3 separate regions of the Homo sapiens genome follow, and all the other regions are linked to region 2. Evidence: promoter capture Hi-C in human tissues and cell types (Jung and others, 2019). All regions are on one chromosome and are shown on one strand. Each heading gives the region's core, a stretch centred on a gene start or on the middle of the fragment in contact. The rest is flanking DNA. Distances are from core to core; before and after follow the strand shown. Region 1 overlaps ARHGAP39 (Rho GTPase activating protein 39). Region 2 holds the start of RPL8 (ribosomal protein L8). Region 3 has its middle 17 kb from the start of ZNF252P-AS1.

Region 1 (3,818 bases), core at 811-3,310, 130 kb after region 2:
AGGTGGATGATGGGGAGGGGAGAGCTGTCCAAGCTGGATAATAATGGGGAGTGGAACGTGGTCCAAGGTGGATAACGGGGAGAGGGGAATCGCTCTAAGGCGGATAGTAGGGAGGGGGAGTGGTCCAAGGTGGATAAACGGGGAGTCGGGGAATGGTCCAAGGTGGATAATGGGGAGGAAGGAGGGGTTCAAGGTGGATAATGCTGACGGGGGAGCGGTCCAAGGCGGATAATGGGGAGGGTGGAGTGATCCAAGGTGGATAATGGGGAGAGAAAGTGACCCAGGGTGGAAAATGGGGAAGGTGAGCGGTCCAAGTTGGATAATGGGGAAGGGGAGCAAGCCAAGGCAGATAATGGGGAGTGGGGAGTGGTCCAAGGCAGATAATGGGATGTGGGGAACGGTCCAAGGTGGATAATGGGGATGAGGGAAGAGGCCCAAGGTGGATAATGGGGAGGGTGAGCAGTCCAAAGTGGATAACGGGGAAGAGGAAGCTGTCCAAGGTGGATAATGGAGATGCGGAAAGGGGGGCGGGGTGGGGGGTTGTCCAAGGTGAATAGTGGGGAGAGGGAGCAGTTCGAGGTGGATAATGGGGAGGAGGGAACAGTTCAAGGTGGATAATAGAGACACAGGAGGGGTCCAAGGTGGATAATGGAGAGGCGGGTAGTGGCCCAAGGCTGCAGTGAGCTGTGATCACACCACTGCACTCCAGCCTGGGCAACACAGCAAACCCCGTCTCGTTCATTCATTCATTTGTATGGTGGCTCCCACCTATAGTCTCAGTATTGTGGGAGGCTGAGGCGGGCAGATCAGTTGAGGGCAGGAGTTCGAGACCAGCCTGGTGGCCAGATGGCCTCAGGCCTTGGGCTGGTGTGAGGATTGGGAGGGGAGAAAGGGGAAGGCTGGTTAGAGGCTGTTTTCCTCTGAATGTGTTTAGCGGCAGGTGTGGATGGGGAGTGCTGGGTTAACCACAGGTGTTTGCCAGGTAAGCATGGGCCCAAGAGAGTTGAGACTATCACAGGAGTGAGGGTGCTGTTCCTGTTAGAAGGAAAGAGACCGAGGCCAGGTGGCTGGTGTGTGGAGCCCACCTCTGCAGGAGTGTCACGCGCGAATGCGCAAAGAGGAGCCGGGGAGAGGCTGAGATGTTGCTCACAGAGCTTTGGGAGCCTTGTGTGTGTAGAGTGGAATGGCCTCCTCCTGTGTGTAGAGTGGAATGGCCTCCTCTGCTCCACACTGCCTGTGTGTGAAGGGGCCATGGTGGTCCCGGAGTGGGTGAAGCTGCTGGGACCCTGTGTAGGACTGCATGTGTTTTCACGGCGGTGCTGAGAGGGCCGTCTGCAGCCAGACTGGACTGCAGCCTCCATCTCCTGGGCACAGGTGATCCTCCTGCCTCAGTCTCCTGAGCAGCTGGGACTACAGAGTCGTGTGCCACCATGCCTATTTTTTTTTTGAGATGGAGTCTCATTCTGTCACCCAGGCTGGAGTGCGATGGCACAATCTCAGCTCACTGCAAACCTCCACCTCCCAGGTTCAAGCAATTCTCCTGCCTCAGCGTCCCGAGTAGCTGGGACTACAGATGGACACCACCACTCTCAGCTAAGTTTTTTTTGTATTTTTAGTAGAGACAGGATTTCACCATGTTGGCCAGACTGGTCTCAAACTCCTGACCTCAAGTGATCTGCCTGCCTCGGCCTCCCAAAGTGCTGGGATTATAGGGGTGAGCCACCCACCCAGCCTTTTAAAAAATTATTCATTTATTTATTTAGAGATGGTTTTTATTGGAACAGAGCAGAAGTAGGAAGTCAGTCTGGGCCAAGATCCTGAGAGAAGTGTTTTCTAGAGCCTGCTGTCCTATGTGTGGCTGCTGAGCACGGAATCATGGCTTGCAAGACTGAGTATTAAATATTACTCAACTTTACTTTAAGCATAGTGACAAGTGACTAGTGTGTTGCACAGTGCAGTTCCAAGGAATGTGCTCATGCAAGGATTGTCCCTTTATTTTAGAGGCACCAGTGAATGCTTATCACGATGAAAGTGATGTGACCTTGGCTGGCTTTTTTGGAGATTCTTTAATATGGTAGTAGGGGTGAGATGGGGTTAGGGGAGGAAAGGCTGAAAGCATGAATAATCTTATATTATTTAACCAGAGGCCAGCAAGAGGGAATTCAGTCTTGAATTTGTGAGAGACCATTCAGGCTTGTGGGAATAGGTGCTGCAGAGCTGACGCCAAGGTGCCCTGGATGGGATGGACAGTGGTGGAGACCTAGGGTCCAGGAGGAGGAGACACGGGAGCATTCCACACCTTTGACCCAGGGGTCGGGGGCAGAGTGGCATGTGCTGTGGACAGAAAGAGATGCACAATGCAAGTGCATGTGGTGGTTGGGAAGAGTGATCTGGGGAGGAGGAGCATTGTGATTCAGGTGAGGGAACACCACCCAAGGAATGTCCATCTGGCATTTGTAAACTGAGGTGAACCTGGCATTTGGGAGAGAGGTGGTTGGGTAGAGAATTGGGACTTAGCTACAGAGGGATTATAACGGAGACTGGGGGAACAGAATGAGGAGTTCAAAGGGTAGCATGTAGAGGGAAATGCATCTTGGGGCGTCCCACAGTTAGAGTGGGGCTTGAATAAGTGGACCCCTCAAGACAGCCAGAGAATGGGGATGAGAGAAGCAATTGTTAGCTTAGCTCTGCAGAGAGCATGTGTCAGTGAGCTGTGAAGGGGTGGCAGAGCATCAGAACCAGCGAATAAGCCAAGGCCGGAAGATTTTGCAAAAAATTGTTTGGGATTCTCTGATTGCTTTGTTTAGGTCCCATGAAATAGTCTAGAAAATGTCCTCCAATTAAGCTTGAACTTGGAACATTGACTTAGAAATAACACTTGTCTCTCCACTCTTAGATCAGAGGGCTGGTGTGATTGAAAAGTGGGCACTCATTGGCCTCAGAGACGTTTTGTCATGGTTAAGACAGGACTCAATGGAAACAGAAAGTTGAACACGTGAAACTTTAGTTTTTTGTAGGTCAAAAACGATTGAAAAAGGCAACATCGTTTGATCATATCTAATTGTGTTAAGAAGCATTCTTCAAATGAGCAGCTTCCCAGCACGTGTTGGGAGTTACCAGGTGTTTCCTCCAAGCCTTCAGGGTGTGAATGTGTGGTTAGGCTGGTGGTAGGCTAATGGCTCTGGTCAGCATGTTGCTGGTTATCTAGCTGCCTGTCATTTTGATTACAGTAATTATGTCCTTTACAGTGTATATTATTAATTGCTGTTTGTGTCGAGTTCCCTGGGAAGTGGACTCTGAGTTGATTTGTCTTTAGGAAGTTTACTGAGGAATGCTTTTGGGATTAGCACCTGTGGAGTGAGTGAACAGAATAGGATTGGACAGAAAGACAATGGGGCTATTACACCCTAACCCTGTTGGGCTGCCACATCCATGAACCTGGTACACCTCCCCATGATTCAGGTCCTCTTAAATGTCTTTCATCAGTACTTTGTACTACTCAGTGCATGTATTTTGCCAAACTTATTTCTAATATTGGTTAAATTTAATATTTACCCCAATATTAAACATTAATATTTAATGTTTTAATTTTTTTACATATATAATCATTTTGTCTATGAATATAGTTTTATTTCTTCTTTCCTAATCCTTCTACCTTTTCTTTTTCCTGCCTTATTGCACTGGCTAGGACCTCCGGTAATGTGTCATGTTAGAGTAGTGAGGGGAAAGCAGTCAGTCTTTCGCTGTTTGTTATGATACACAGTCATCCCTCAGTGTCCATGGGGAATGGTTTTAGGACACCCTGTGGATACCAAAAT
Region 2 (3,939 bases), core at 762-3,261:
CTGCCACCATACCCAGCTAACTTTTGTATTTTTAGTATAGACGGGGTTTGTCCATATTGATCAGGCTAGTCTGGAACTCCTGACCTCAGGTGATCCGCCTGCCTCGGCCTCCCAAAGTGCTGGGATTACAGGCATGAGCCACCGCACCCGGCCGGAAATAAATAATTTCTAACAATAAAGTTTGAACAGCAGGTTGGGGTGACGTCGGATGGCATAAGGGAGGTCACCAGGCCACTAGCACAAGCAGAGGCACTGTGTGGGGAGGGACTAATCCTGGCCTAAGAAAGATGGCTCCACCCCAGAAGGCTGGAAAACCCCATGTCCAGTGCTTGCGGCCTCGTCTGGAGTGGCTGTCAAGTGACCCAGAACTGCATAGCCCCTGCTGTGTACCAGGCTGTGTGGTCTCCCGTGAAGGTCAAGACTGAGCCCAGTCACACAGTCCTCAGGACTGTCAGGTGGATGCTGGCAGGGCCATGTCTCTTCCAGCCTTAAAGCGGCCTGGTCAGTCTCCTGGCTGCACGTAGGGTCTTGGTAGCCGCATCTCATCCCAGAGACCCGTGAGACCATCTTGGGGACCCCACAGCCTGTGTGTCCAAGCACTCTTCTCACCTCTATCCCGCACCCAACTCTCCTTCTGCTCCTCCAGAGAAGCAGATTTGTTCAGGAGTGACGGACAGGCTGGGCCTGTGGGCCAATTTTGGGCTGACCCCAGAACCCCTCACCCTGCCCCCAGGGTCCAGTCCTGCCCCTCAGCCCCTGGCCCTAGCTGTGGGCTGTGCTGCTTCCTGAGTCCCCACCGGGCAGCTCCTCCTCCATCCCCCTGCCGACCCTAGGGGAGGGCCTCCTGCAGCAGCCCCTCCTCTCCCCTGTGAGCAACAGCGGGCACAGGACACCCTTCCACCCTCTCCTGTCTCCTTCTCACGATGTCAACCCTGCCTCAGCCCCTGCAGGGTCTAGGAAACACCCCACCTCCCAGTACCGACAGCAAGCCTCTCCCGCCCACTGGGACCCCCGCCTTCACCTCCTTGCTGCCTCCCCACCCACGGCCTCGCGTGTGCTCGACAGTGCTCACTCAGCCAGGGACTCTCTCCTGGAAAACCTCTTCCCCACCATCCCCCACCCGCGGCCTCGGGGTCCCACCCGTTAGGGGCCCGATTCCGCGAAGCCCCTCTCCACAGCACGTACCGCAGGACACCCCCAGTCGGGCTGACTCTTTCCAGCTCAGGCCCCCACAGCCCCTCCCAGCCTCCATTTCTTGCTCCTTCCCCACCTCTCCCGCACAGGGTTCTGGTCAGGGTACGGTCCAGTCTCCCATTATTCGTCCACTCCGCAGCATGTGACCCAGCCCATCCCCGCTCCTTCTTCCTCGACCCGGGACCCTCCAGCTTGGCCCTCCCCACTTCCTGGGCCGGCCGGCCCTCACCCTCGGCAAGGATCCCGGGGCTCCTCTCCTCGACGCCCGACCTCTCCAAGGGCCTACAGTGGATAAGGTCCCCGCGTCCAGAAGCGCCCGTTCATCAGGGAGACGGACATTTGCCACCTGCAAACCATGACGTTCCACGAGTGGGTCCACGCGTCTCCCCTGCCCATCTCCTGCTCTGCACCAGCGAGAACCCCCTCGGCCTACACGGAAGCCCCTCACCAGGCAAGCCGGGAGCCCCAGACCCCGTGGCCCGGAGTGGGTCGCTCTGTGACACCCTGGACAGGTCACTCAACCACTTGGCGCCTCCTCGGCCACTCAGAAAACACCTGCCCTCCCGGAGACCCCGGTGAAAGCCGAGCACTCCTGCACCCTCCTTCCGAGCCCACGCACACCAGGACACCTTCAGCCGCGTCTCCTGGTGCGCCTGCGCGGGGGCCCTGGAGGAGGAGAAGTAGGCGGGGCCGGCGGCCGCTGGTGACTACAAGCCCCGGCGTGCACCGCGCTAGGCTGGCCGTGGCGCGCCCGGAAGGTGTCGCGGCCCTGGGCCCCGCCCCGGAAGATAAGGCCGCTCGCTGACGCCGTGTTTCCTCTTTCGGCCGCGCTGGTGAACAGGTAGGTCATCCTTGCGGCCTTGCGGCATGGGCAGTATCCGCCGCCATCCTCTTCCGTGAGGCGCGCTGAGACCCGGACCGGCCCTCCTGAGAGGATGCCGGTGCGGGCGCCCGCGGAGAGGGTAGGGAGTGGTGGGCGCGGCGGCCTCGGGGGCGGGGTCCCGGAAAGCCGGGCTGGCGGGGGTACCCGGGCCGCCCGGCCGCGCTAATCGTGAGTCGCCCCCAGGACCCGTCGCCATGGGCCGTGTGATCCGTGGACAGAGGAAGGGCGCCGGGTCTGTGTTCCGCGCGCACGTGAAGCACCGTAAAGGCGCTGCGCGCCTGCGCGCCGTGGATTTCGCTGAGCGGCACGGCTACATCAAGGGCATCGTCAAGGTGCGGAACGCTGGCCGGGGCGGGAGGGGAAGGGACGCCCGGCCGGAACGCCGCACTCACGCCGCCTCTGCCCACAGGACATCATCCACGACCCGGGCCGCGGCGCGCCCCTCGCCAAGGTGGTCTTCCGGGATCCGTATCGGTTTAAGAAGCGGACGGAGCTGTTCATTGCCGCCGAGGGCATTCACACGGGCCAGTTTGTGTATTGCGGCAAGAAGGGTTAGCATCGCGGCGGGGAAGGAAGGTCGGGGTGGGGAGGGGTCTGGGTGTTGCCTGAGGAGTTAACGTCCTAAGCCGATATGGGAACCTCGCAGGCAGAAGCTTCAGGTGGGGACATCCGCGTGGCCAGACCAGTGGCCACCGGTGGGTGCCGAGAGAGTTGTACCGGGAGGCTGGATGTTGAATGCTGTGCTCGCAACTTCGCGGGTTGCCTAGAGCGAGGGGGTTCGCATTGTTTCTTACTGTGCTGACGGCCTGATGCTGCTTCCCCTTGCAGCCCAGCTCAACATTGGCAATGTGCTCCCTGTGGGCACCATGCCTGAGGGTACAATCGTGTGCTGCCTGGAGGAGAAGCCTGGAGACCGTGGCAAGCTGGCCCGGGCATCAGGGAACTATGCCACCGTTATCTCCCACAACCCTGAGACCAAGAAGACCCGTGTGAAGCTGCCCTCCGGCTCCAAGAAGGTTATCTCCTCAGCCAACAGAGCTGTGGTTGGTGAGTATCAGGCAGCAGTTGAATGCTGAGGGCTGTGGGTGAACATGCTGTGAGTGCCGGTGGACAGCCAGTGGCTAGACTTGGTCCCTGGAATTCGATTACCTGTTGTTCTAAAACTTGGGTTCTGTAAGTTTGAGCTCATCCTGTAGTCTCAGTTGTCATCACTGTACAACAGGCACAACAGTACCTGCTTTACTGCTGTTGAGGCGTTAAATGAGATTGGGACGAAGTCACCAGGGTCTTGGATTCTACCGTGGGCTTCCTGATTGCTGCACTTGCATGCAGTTGGTTAACAGCCTTTTTAGAGAAGGCAGGGAGAGATTGTGGCTTTCTCAAAGACGCCTACTGAGTGAGTGAAAAAGGATTTGAGTCTAGGTTAACTCACTGTGCTGTTTGGGAACATCTTGGAATCCTTGTGATGAACTCAGCCTCGCACAGGGGAGGCTCTGAGGTTGTGTTCCTGGAATAAGTAAAGCTGAGATGGGGCAGGCTGAATCAAGTGTCTTACGTCAGGTTGAGTGGCCGGCCTGACGTCTCACACATGGTGAGGGGGGTGCTTCCCTGCGCTTGGAGCTCAGCCAGCATTCTAGGTGATGGAGGTGAGGGCCTTGGCTTGCCTGCCCATTGTGGATTGAAGAAACTGGATGTCAGCTCACAGGGTGCAAGGGGCTCCCTAGGGTGGAGGCGAGTGGGCTTTTTGCTGGGTAGTTGGATGCAGTATTGGGAAGGTGCATGACAGGAGATTGAGGGGAGGTGGGGGTGCTCTGACCGACTGGGGGTTCCCTGAGGTATCTGATCCCCTACAGGTGTGGTGG
Region 3 (4,315 bases), core at 569-3,068, 230 kb before region 2:
CTTTGCTCAGATGTTGTTAATTTGTAGTTTTGCCCCAGCCACTTTGACCCAACCTGGAGCTCATAAAAACATGTGTTGTATGAAGTCAAGGTTTAAGGGATCTAGGGCTGTGCAGGATGTGCCTTGTTAACAAAATGTTTACAAGCAGTATACTTGGCAAAAGTCATTGCCATTCTCTAGTGTCAACAAACCACAGGCATAATGCACTGCAGAAACCCACAGGGAACTCTGCCCTTGAAAGCTGGGTATCGTCCAAGGTTTCTCCCCATGTGATAGTCGGAAATATGGCCTCATGAGATGAGAAAGACCTGACTGTCCCCCAGCCCGACACCCGTAAAGGGTCTGTGCTGAGGTGGATTGGTAAAAGAGGAAAGCCTCTTGCAGTTGAGATAGAGGAAGGCCACTGTCTCCTGCCTGCCCCTGGGAACTGAACGTCTTGGTATAAAACCCGATTGTACATTTGTTCAATTCTGAGATAGGAGAAAAACCGCCCTATGGTGGGAGGTGAGACATGTTGGCAGCAATGCTGCCTTGTTATTCTTTACTCCACTGAGATGTTTGGGTGGAGAGAAACATAAATCTGGCCTATGTGCACATCCAGGCATAGTACTTTCCCTTGAACTTAATTATGACATAGATTCCTTTGCTCACATGCTTTTTGCTGACCTTCTCCTTATTATCACCCTGCTCTCCTACTACATTCCTTTCTGCTGAAATCATGAAAATAATAATCAATAAAAACTGAGGGAACTCAGAGACCGGTGCCGGTGCAGGTCCTTGGTGTGCCGAGTGCCGCTCTCCTGGGCCCACTGTTGTTTCTCTATACTTTGTCACTGTGTCTTATTTCTTTTCTCAGTCTCCCATCCCACCTGACTAGAAATACCCACAGGTGTGGAGGGGCAGGCCACCCCTTCAGATTATCAAGAACTCCAATGAAGCCAGCTAAATCTATTTGCCAATTGACTGAATTAACAAAGGCTTTCCAAATCTGATTTTTATTCATTGGAACTATAATCTTATCTGGATCTGAGCCACAAAGTTTAACAACTCTAAGGTGAGCTTGCCCAATCAAGATTGCCATCTGATCCAAGTATACTGTGAGTGTTCTAACAGTATTGTGAGGCAGAAAAGACCATTCAACTAAGTCCTCACTCTGAACTGTAACCCCTGTAGAAGAATGGAGAGTAGGGAACACAATGAACTGTAATGGTAAATTTGAGTCTATTCTATTAACCTGGGCCTGTTGTATTTTTTCTTCAATCATTTGTAATTCTTTGGCAGTCTCAGGAGTCAGTTCTCATTTACTATTGAGAGCAGGGTCACCTCTTAAAATAGAGAACAGATTAGACATAGCATAGGTAGGGATTCCCAAAGGAGGTCAAATCCAATTGATATCCCCTAATAATTTTTGAAAATCATTTAAAGTTTTCAGAGAGTCTTTTTGAATTTGAACCTCTTGGGGTCTAATTGCCCTTTCCTGATCCTGCATTCCCAAATATTGGAAAGGAGTGGATGTTTGAATTTTATCTGGTGCTATGAGCAATCCAGCATTGGCTACCACCTCCTGTAAATATGAATAACACTGGATAAGTCAGTCTTAACTTTTGACCGTACCCAATATGTCATCCATAAAATGAATGATATATGAATCAGGAAACTGATCTCTCACAGGTGGAATAGCCTTCCCCACAAAAGTTTGACAAATAGTAGGACTATTCAACATATCCTGCAGCAGGACTTTCCAATGATATCTGGCTGCTGGTTCCTTGTTGTTCATAGCAGGAATAGTAAAAGCAAATTTCACAAAATCAGACTCTGCTAGAAGAATATTTAAAAAGCAATCCTTCAAATCTATAATTACTAATGGCCAGTCTCTAGGAATCATGGTGGGGGATAGAAGCCCCAGCTGCAGGGCCCCAATCAGCTGAATGAATGTGTTCACCACACGTAAGTCGGTTAGCATGCGCCATCTGCTGGATTTTTTCTTTATTACAAACACCGGCAAATTCTATGGAGAAAATGTGGGCTCAATGCTTCCTTTGTTTAATTGCTCTTTGACTAATTCCTGTAAGGCCCCCAATTTTTCCTGAGTAAGTGGCCACAGCTCAACCCAAACAGGATTTTGGGTCTTCCATTTTAAGGGAATAGGACTTGGAGGCTCAACAGTGACCACCCCTAAAAATGGTAACCTACATGGGAGGTTCCAAGATGGCCAAATAGGAACAGTTCCAGTCTAGAGCTCCCAGCATGAGCGATGCAGAAGACAGGTGATTTCTGCATTTCCAACTGAAATACCAGGTTCATCTCACTGGAGCTTGTCAGACAGTGGGTGCAGGACAGTGGGTGCAGCCCACCGAGTGAGACCTGAAGCAGGGCAAGGCACCACCTCACCTGGGAAGTGCAAGGGGTCAGGGAATTCCCTTTCCTAGCCAAGGGAAGCTGTGACAGATGGCACCTGGAAAATCGGGTCACTCCCACCCTAATACTGTGCTGTTCCAATGGTCTTAGCAAATGGCACACCAGGAGATTATTTCCTACACCTGGCTTGGAGGGTCCCACACCCATGGAGCCTTGCTCATTGCTAGCACAGCAGTCTGAGATCGAACTGCAAGGTGGCAGCAAGGCTGGGGGAGGGGCGCCCACCATTGCTGAGACTTCAGTAGGTAAACAAAGCGGCTGGGAAGCTTGAACTGGATGGAGCCCACTGCAGCTCAAGGAGGCCTACCAGCCTCTGCAGACTCCACCTCTGGGTGCAGGGCATAGCTGAACAAAAGGCAGCAGAATCTTCTGCAGACTTAAATGTCCCTGTCTGACAGCTTTGAAGAGAGTAGTGGTTCTCCCAGCATGGAGTTTGAGATCTGAGAACAAACAGACTGCCTCCTCAAGTGGCTCCCTGACACCTGAGTACCCTAACTGGGAGGCACCTCCCAGTAGGGGCTGACTGATACCTCACACGGCCGGGTACCCCTCTGAGATGAAGCTTCCAGAGGAATGATCAGGCAGCAACATTTGCTATTCTGCAATATTCGCTATTCTGTAGCCTCTACTGGTCATATCCAGGCAAACAGGATCTAGAGTGGACCTCCAGCAAACTCCAACAGACCTGCAGCTGAGGGTTCTGACTATTAGAAGGAAAACTAACAAACAAAAAGTACATCCACACCAAAACCCCATCTGTACGTGACCATCATCAAAGACAAAAGGTAGATAAAAACACAAAGATGGGGAGAAGCCAGAGCAGAAAAGCTGAAAATTCTAAAAATCAGAGCACCTCTTCTCCTCCAAAGGAATGCAGCTCCTCACCAGCAATAGATCAAACCTGGATGGAGAATGACTTTGATGAGTTGAGAGAAGAAAGCTTCAGATGATCAAACTTCTCTGAGCTAAAGGAGGATGTTTGAACCCATCACAAAGAAGCTAAAAACCTTGAAAAAAGATTAGACGAATGGCTAACTGAATAACCAGGGTAGAGAAGACCTTAAATGACCTGATGGAGCTGAAAGCCATGGCACGAGAACTACATGTGCAAGCTTCAGTAGCTGATTCAATCAACTGGAAGAAAGGGTATCAGTGATTGAAGATCAAATGAATGAAATGATGTGAGAAGAGAAGTTTAGAGAAAAAAGAGTAAAAAGAAATGGAACAAAGCCTCCAAGAAATATGGGACTATGTGAAAAGACCAAATCTACATCTGATTGGTGTACCTGAAAGTGATGGGGAGAATGGAACAAAGTTGGAAAACAGTTTTCAGGATATTATCCAGGAGAATTTCCTCAACCTACCAAGGCAGGCCAACATTCAAATTCAGGAAATACAGAGAATGCCACAAAGATACTCCTCAAGTAGAGCAACTCCAAGACACATAATTGTCAGATTCACCCAAGTTGAAATGAAGGAAAAAATGTTAAGGGCAGCCAGAGAGAAAGGTCGAGTTACCCACAAAGGGAAGCCCACCAGACTAACAGTGGATCTCTCAGCAGAATCTCTACAAGCCAGAAGAGAGTGGAGGCCAATATTCAACATTCTTAAAGCAAAGAATTTTCAACCCAGAGTTTCATATCCAGCCAAACTAAGCTTCATAAGTGAAGGAGAAATAAAATCCTTTACAGACAAGCAAATGCTGAGAGATTTTGTCACCACTGGGCCTGCCTTACAAGAGCTCCTGAAGGAAGCACTAAACATGGAAAGGAAAAACCAGTACCAGCCACTGCAAAAACATGCCAAATTGTAAAGACCATCGATGCTAGGAAGAAACTGCATCAACTAATGAGCAAAATAACCAGCTAACTCAAAATGACAGGATCAAATTCACACA

The links. The method cuts DNA at HindIII sites, captures the fragments that hold promoters and counts their contacts. A contact is called where the count stands out against the background at its distance.
Region 1: a contact is called between a fragment that was not itself captured here and the fragment with the promoter of RPL8 in region 2, in 1 of the 25 tissues and cell types used here (dorsolateral prefrontal cortex).
Region 3: a contact is called between a fragment that was not itself captured here and the fragment with the promoter of RPL8 in region 2, in 3 of the 25 tissues and cell types used here (H1 embryonic stem cells, lymphoblastoid cells and small bowel).

What each region holds. Positions count from the first base shown.
Region 1 is chr8:144,658,614-144,662,431 of GRCh38, reverse strand. The region is part of intron 1 of ARHGAP39 (Rho GTPase activating protein 39); the gene reads left to right. Among named protein-coding and RNA genes, the nearest start is that of ARHGAP39, 25 kb to the left of the region's middle. The HindIII fragment of the contact is 7,618 bases long and covers 1-3,818 here.
Region 2 is chr8:144,790,462-144,794,400 of GRCh38, reverse strand. It overlaps RPL8 (ribosomal protein L8), which reads left to right and starts at 2,011. Exons shown (of 5, transcript NM_001317782.2): 1 at 2,011-2,409; 2 at 2,487-2,628; 3 at 2,906-3,124; 4 at 3,931-3,939. The coding sequence starts at 2,272. It overlaps MIR6850 (microRNA 6850), which reads left to right and starts at 2,410; the gene lies at 2,410-2,470. RefSeq lists enhancers at 1-919, 3,332-3,831, 3,832-3,939 and a silencer at 2,090-2,309. The HindIII fragment of the contact is 17,129 bases long and covers 1-3,745 here.
Region 3 is chr8:145,017,844-145,022,158 of GRCh38, reverse strand. No RefSeq gene overlaps it. Among named protein-coding and RNA genes, the nearest start is that of ZNF252P-AS1, 17 kb to the right of the region's middle. The HindIII fragment of the contact is 6,395 bases long and covers 1-4,315 here.